2 separate regions of the Homo sapiens genome follow, and region 2 is linked to region 1. Evidence: promoter capture Hi-C in 16 types of primary human blood cells and fetal thymus (Javierre and others, 2016). All regions are on one chromosome and are shown on one strand. The core of a region is centred on a gene start or on the middle of the fragment in contact, and the rest is flanking DNA. Distances in the headings are between cores, read along the strand shown. Region 1 holds the start of IDH1 (isocitrate dehydrogenase (NADP(+)) 1). Region 2 overlaps CCNYL1 (cyclin Y like 1).

Evidence for each region. Contacts are between HindIII fragments. The CHiCAGO score rates a contact against its expected background, and 5 or more counts as called.
Region 2: a fragment that was not itself captured here is called in contact with the fragment with the promoter of IDH1 in region 1 in 6 of 17 cell types (megakaryocytes, fetal thymus, monocytes and 3 more); the score reaches 14.7 in megakaryocytes.

Annotation. Positions count from the first base shown.
Region 1 is chr2:208,253,431-208,256,320 of GRCh38, forward strand. It overlaps IDH1 (isocitrate dehydrogenase (NADP(+)) 1), which reads right to left and starts at 1,641. Exons shown (of 10, transcript NM_005896.4): 1 at 1,509-1,641; 2 at 456-529. It overlaps IDH1-AS1 (IDH1 antisense RNA 1), which reads left to right and starts at 1,803. Exons shown (of 2, transcript NR_046452.1): 1 at 1,803-2,001; 2 at 2,473-2,764. RefSeq lists a silencer at 786-895 and an enhancer at 1,349-1,875. The HindIII fragment of the contact is 4,060 bases long and covers 1-2,890 here.
Region 2 is chr2:207,746,327-207,750,390 of GRCh38, forward strand. CCNYL1 (cyclin Y like 1) reads left to right here. Exons shown (of 10, transcript NM_001330218.2): 8 at 721-887. Among named protein-coding and RNA genes, the nearest start is that of MIR4775, 6.4 kb to the right of the region's middle. The HindIII fragment of the contact is 2,123 bases long and covers 664-2,786 here.

The DNA.
Region 1 (2,890 bases), core at 391-2,890:
TCTCCACCTTTGTTGCCCCTCAGATTTTGTCTCCAACCCAATCCCAACTTCAGAAGGAAGGGCTGTTCCAAGACCAGCAGGCACCAGCTCATATGAAGTAGCTGAATCCTATCTCCTAACATAATTGTGCAATTCCAGAAAATAAACCTGGAATAACAATACAGAGTAGTTTAATGAAAAAAAAGAGCCATTTAATATTATTTTCATCAACCTCAAGTTTTTGGCCAGATTGTTTTTTGCCGAGTTCATGAACTACAATAATTTCTGGGCAAAAAGGATCTCTTGCAGATAAGACACTGTATTAAAAGAAACAAGGAAGCTGTTGGAATTCGTTGTTGGAAATATTCCTCACTCATTCCCTTGCAGTGCCTCGGCCTGCCCCCAAGACCAGTTAAACACTGTACTGCCACATCAAAGAAAGTACAGAAGAAGGGGGAAAATTTGCTAATTCTCACCTTGACAGTGAATAGATTTCTTATCACCCCAGTTCCTCCCAGTCTTGCAGACTCAACTGAATGTAGTTTATCGCCTAAAACAAAACAAGGAATAAAAGTGTTAACATACAGAACACTCACAGGAGAATTTAGCTGTTTTTAGTACCTGCCAGACAGCCCAGTTTATCCGGTTTAAAGTACAGTGCTGAGTGTACTCGGTGGGACAAAGGCCAATTTTAGGCCCGCAGGCACTTTCCAAATAAAGGTCATGGGAGCACAATTTATCTCTGCGTGTGCGAGGGCGTGCCCCCGCTTCGCCGCCCGTTAGCAGGTCTTGGGGTTTGCATGTCCTTGCTCTTGGCCTGCACCCGTCCTTATGGCCGTTGTGCAAGAGGGCTGCAATCAAGGCTGGATCGGTACCTCCTTCCAGGTCTCCACGCCCGCCCCTCCCCTCCCCTCCCCTCGCTGGTGCTGGGACCTTTTAAACTCCAGGCACCCGGAACTGGCGGGGGTGTTTCCCCCAGCCCCCTCTCGCCCCGTGTGGCCTAGCGACCCCTCTGAAGGCCGCTGGAGCTCCGCCCCTCCACGCCCCCTGGCGGACGCGAGGGATCGGCTTCAAGGCTATTCCTCGCCGCCTGAGTTGCCTGCAGACGCCCGTCTGCGGCTTACAGCCTTCTTTGCATCCAGCCCCCAGCTGCTGCACGTTTTCTTCCTCCTACACTCCAGGCTTAGTCTTCTACATGCATTCTTGCAACTTCCACCCCTCGATTTTCCAACCCAAGTGCAGACCTGATTTTCCCCTTGTCGTTGCATCCAACTTCCTCACCGCCCAGTTTCTCCCTCCCAGGCCCAAAAGCAGACCTTCTGCATATCCAAGCATCCAGCATCCCCTCCTTCCCTTTTCTTTTCCCATTCTCAATACCTGGATTTGTTCCCTTCTTTGCACGCAGGCCTTGACTCCCTCCACACCCAAGATCTGCGCTTTTTTCCTTTACCCCATTCCTGCCTTCTGCGGAATTAGAGCCACCCCTCCACAGCCAGGGACCGGGGCCGCCCCTTGGAGCCTGAGGTTACCTGCCGGGATGATATGCTGGCGAAGAGTTGGGGCGCCACAGCCGCTCACAAGCTCAGACTCACAACCACAGCCTGGCAATCCCAAACCGGACTCCCAGTGCCTCCGCTTCTGAAGTAGACTCTGCAGAAACCCGGGACCACAGGGTAGGTCCGAGCTTTTCCTCTTCCCGGCTTTGTCCCCTCCCAGGCCCCGCCTCCTCAGCCCACCTCCCCCAGCCCCGCCCCCGACACGCCTCCAATCGCCACACGCCAATTCCCGTGGGATGGGCGGAGTCAGCGAGAGGGGCGTGGCCACAGTCAAAGATGGAGAATCCATGGTGCCACTTTCCCGGTGATCCCGGTGGGGGAAGGGGTTGCCGCCCGGCAGAGATTCAGTCCCGAATCCCGACAGCGAAGAGACTTGTATGCCACCTGCAGGCCGGGGAGCGGGGCGCGCTGGGGCTGCACCACCCCGAACTTTGTAACAATCTAGAGCACCACAGAGTGTTTCCAGGTCGGCACAAAAGCGAACGGGACAGGGCGCCCTGGGCGGCGGCAGCTTGGCCGGCCCGCTGCCTAGCGCGCCCCCGAGGGGCGGTAATGGAACGTACCTTTGGCTGAAGAAAGAGTGCTCCCGGCCAGCGCGGGGTCGCCTAGGGGGTTCCGCGCTGCCTAATGCAAAGGATGGAAAAGTTACAGAAGCAGGTCCTGACACCACCTATGTCTAGGTCTTTAGAAACTCCATTGATTGTTTGCATTAGAAGATAATGAATGGGATTCTTATTATTTTCTTTTTTAAGACAGGGCCTTGCTCTGTTGCCCTGGCTGGAGTGCAGTGGAGCGATCACCGCTCACTGCAGCCTTGACTTCCTGGGCTCAAGAGATCCTCCCACCTCAGCCTTCCGAGTAGCTGGGATTACAGGTGCACACAATCACACTCAACTAATTTTTCTTTCTTTCTTTTCTTTTCTTTTTCCTTTGGTAGAGATGGGTTTCAGCAGCCCAGGCTGGTCTCGAACTCCTGGACTCAAGTGATTGGCCCTCCTCGGCCTCCCAAAGTCCTGGGATTACAAGCGTGAGCCACCATGCTCAGTTGGCGGGGGATTATCTGTGATCCAATGAAGTTGGACTAGAGATGTGAAGCCTTAGAAAACGGTGGATTGAAAAAAGAATTTTAGTCTCCTCCAGAGATTATATTTTGTGTGTTCATTGCTCTCAAAAACATGAAAATAAAGAGTATTTTATATTGTGATTTGTAGGACAATAGCATGCTTGTATATTGCTGCCCAGAATTTAATGCTCCAATATTTATTTATTTATTTATTTATTTATGAGACAGAGTCTTGCCCTGACAGGCTGGTGCAGTCTCGGCTCACTGCAACTTCCGCCTCCTGGGTTCAAGT
Region 2 (4,064 bases), core at 475-2,974, 510 kb before region 1:
ATTACTTGGGTTTTACATATTTGAGCATAATATAGCTACCTGTAAAATTACTATCTACCATGCAAGTATGATACATTGTACCTGGTAGGCACTCATTATTTATTGAACAACTCTATTATGGGTGTGGAGGTGATAAGAGTGCCTCTCTTGATGATGCTGTTTGCTGAGATGTCCAGTCATTCCTGTGACTGGGTGGGAAATGTATATGGGCAGAATAGGCAGCAGAGATATCTGACCTACAACTGTGATTTAGTGTCTTGCTTTGGCTGAGTAAGCAAAGTCTCTGTAGAACATAAGAATAAAAGGCACTTATTTTCTGGTCAAAAACAAAAGAAATTTGTCAGTCATGAATTCTTATCAAAGCATTTCGGGGCCGGGCGCGGTGGCTTACGCCTGTAATCCCAACATTTTGGGAGGATCTGGTGGATCACCTGAGATCAGGAGTTCGAGACCAACCTGACCAAAATGGAGAAACCCCGTCTCTACTGAAAATACAAAAATTAGCTGGGCATGGTGGCGCATGCCTGTAATCCCACCTAGTCGGGAGGCCGAGGCAGGAGAATCACTTGAACCTGGGAGGCGGAGGTTCTGTGAGCCGAGATCGCACCATTGCACTACAGCCTGGGCAACAAGAGTGAAACTCCGTCTCAAAAAAAAAAAAAAAGCTTATCAAAGCATTTAAACTGAACTAAAATCAAAGACCAGTGCTCTATTTTACAGGTTTACTTAGAAAGGCTTTTAACTTATGCTGAAATCGACATTTGTCCCACCAACTGGAAAAGGATTGTTCTGGGAGCCATTCTTCTTGCCTCCAAGGTTTGGGACGATCAGGCTGTATGGAATGTGGACTACTGCCAGATCCTCAAGGACATTACAGTTGAGGACATGTGAGTTTGTAAGGTTTTGGTGAACTTTCTAACCATTTTCCAGTATCTTATTCCTATAAAGTTAACAATTTAAGGAATATTTTTAAAGGTTACATTATGCAGATAATGGAAATAGGCATAAGACTATATCTGTCTATCTTTAGTATAACAGTTCACAATAGAGCAAGACTGTCTCAAAAAAAAAAAAACTAACTTCATATTTTCCATCATTACTTGGTAGGTTTTGATGTGTAATAATCTGCTTGATAAATTGAAAAATATTTTTTGGGTGGTTTTTGGCAAAAATCTTACAAGTATACTACCAGAACAACATAGCACAGTAAATATCTTTATTTTATTTTATTTTTTGTTTTGAGACGGAGTCTTGCTCGGTTGCCTAGGCTGGAGTGCAGTGATGCAGTCTCGGCTCACTGCAAGCTCCACCTCCCAGGTTCAAGCGATTCTCCTGCCTCAGCTTCCTGAGTAGCTGGGATTACAGTGGGATTACAGGCATGCGCCACCATGCCTGGCTAATTTTTGTATTTTTAGTAGAGACGAGGTTTCACTGTGTTGGTCAGGCTGGTCTTGAACTCCTGACCTTGTGATTCGCCCGCCTCCGTCTCCCAAAGAGCTGGGATTACAGGCATGAACCACTACGCCTGGCCTCTTTATGGCTTTTAAAAAGTTATCTGCCAGTTCAAGCTCCTTTCTCTTTTTCATTCATTCATTCATTCATTCATTTATATCTTTTCATGTGACCAGTAGGGTATAAACAGCCCTTAAAGGGCATATGTCTGGCCTTTGAAATAATTGTTTGGCCACTATTAGGTCTTAGGGCCTCTGGACTATTGAGAAGTTACGTAGCTTCAACCTGAGTCACACATTGTATATTTGCTTTTGCTAGTCTTTCCACATTTTATCTGAAGGTCTGTTTTTACAGAAGCCTTGAGATATGAAGATCCCTGTGCCCCTGACCCCTCCCCATTAGGAGTGTTTTTTGTATTTAGAAATTGGTCTCCTGAGTTAGGAAGCTCCAGCGTTCCCCTCAGGCGGTCTGAGAAGCACTGCTGGGGCATCATCCAACGCTCACCACACTCGAGAGGCTCCCTGGGCACTCGGACAACCACAGCACCACTTTGGGGGCCTTGAGTTACCTATGAGAGTGCAAGGATCCTTGCTGAGTCATGGAGTTCCTCACAGATGGCACCAATATGACCCTGAAACAGCAGCTTCATCAGGGTTCCTTCCAGGCTGGCCTCGTGTCGGCCGTGAAGGGAAGGGCCTTGGAGCTTGGTAGGCAGGCTGAGCCAGGGAGGCATTTCCAGCAAAGGCTCTCAGGGTGCCCACCAGACAGTGAGAATGGCTTTGTGGGTGGCATTTAGAAAAATATGAAGGAGCACCTCTTGATGATGTTGAGCAGCAGAGGAAGATCAAGGTCATGACAGGCAGTGGCAAGAGTTTGTTTTTATTGCCTTTGCCCATTACTCCATATGACTGTCATTCAGAATTACCATACCATATATTCACAACTGAAGTGAGGATACTTGTGACTAAAAAGGAACCAGTAATTGTGGTAGCTGTTGAAGTGGCTTCTGGTGAAGTTGACCACTTTACTGTTTACCGAACAGCCCTAGTGATATTGCTGGTAGCCGTTTTAGCAAAGGGTGTGACAGCAAATGAATTTGAAACAAATGGAAGTACTTTTGGAAATTGCAGAAACTAAAGTGACTTTGATCACTGCTGTCATCCGTCTGCAAACTGGTTTCTTGAAGGAAGCAAAATTTATTATTATGAACACTTAGCCCTACCATGATGGCAGCTAAAATGTTCTCAAAACCTGCAACTGAACTGACTGGTGCTCTAGTTCAAGATACAGTATCAGAGAACCTGCAGGGAAATGTGCAGGTTTCTACAGATGTAAGCTTCAGGAGCAGTGGTGGCAGGGGCCAGCTCCAAGAAGACCAGTTCTAAATAGTGCTGTTTGTGTATGCCCAGGGAAGCACCAGGAGCTATGCTACAAACAGGCTGCTTTTGTTTATGATCTTTGGAAAGCATTTCAACAAACTGTTTAATATACATTTGTCTCATCCCCCTGCTGTTGACTATTTGTAGTGGTCTCATTTTGAGTCTAAATTGAAACAATTTTAAATTGGTGTCTATCAGGTTTTTCTTAAAAATTTTCAACAGCTACATGTCCTGTTAGAATATATTTCCCTTTAAAAGAATAAGTTAAACTGAGCAGCTGCTATTCAGACGGTTTGCTGTGCCTGTAAAGGGTATGCTATTCAGCCACCTAGCCATTTAAAAAAAAACAAAAAACCTAGAAGATGCATATTCTGTAAGCATAATGCTTTTCTTCAGTGATTAAACCTCTATTAATATGTGTGTTAATCCTATGAAGTACTATATTTCTACACAGTTAAAATGTATTAGTGGAAAAAATATAAAAGGGATTGTGAAGTGCATTTATTGCTGTAGTAAATTAAGTCCTGGTTAGCTGATTATCAAAACATTATCTGATTTACATTTCTATAGGCTTATGGACATATGAACAGGAAATTAATTTTGGAAGTAGGTTCAGTTGGGTTTTTAAGCTCAGCAAATGAGAAAACCACATCTCTGCTCATATTAACTGCTCTCCATACAGGAGATCATCAAGCATTTGTTGACTTACCCAGTGGATAAAATATTAAAACTTTGAAACCAAGAAACCAAATATGTTGTTTAGGTATTTATCATTTTTATACAGTTAACTCCTTATAGGGATTACTGTGAAAGTGGTTAAGATTTTCTCTAGTTTTATGTTTATTTGCTTAAGCATTTGGCAAGGGCAGCTGTGTGGTCATGTAGCCGACTACTACTCCCAGCCCTTTCCTCTCCCATTGCATTCAGCTCACTCCTACATTCTGTTCTGACCAGGACGGTAGATACTGAGCACCTCAGGGTTTCATTCCCAACTCAGAAGAAACACTGAGTTTTTAAGTCCAGTGACCTACCATAAGTCATATCATAAAATGGGTTTAGTCTAGCCAAGACATCCACCTTTGATCTTTCTGCCTTCCAAAGTTTAAAGAGTATCCTCACCCTGTCATAGTGACAATTTCTCACCTTCATAATATTAAAGTGAGCAGAAACTTGCATTATGCCCTTTGACATAGCCTCATGCGCCGGGACAGGGGGAGGGGATTCCCTTCCCCT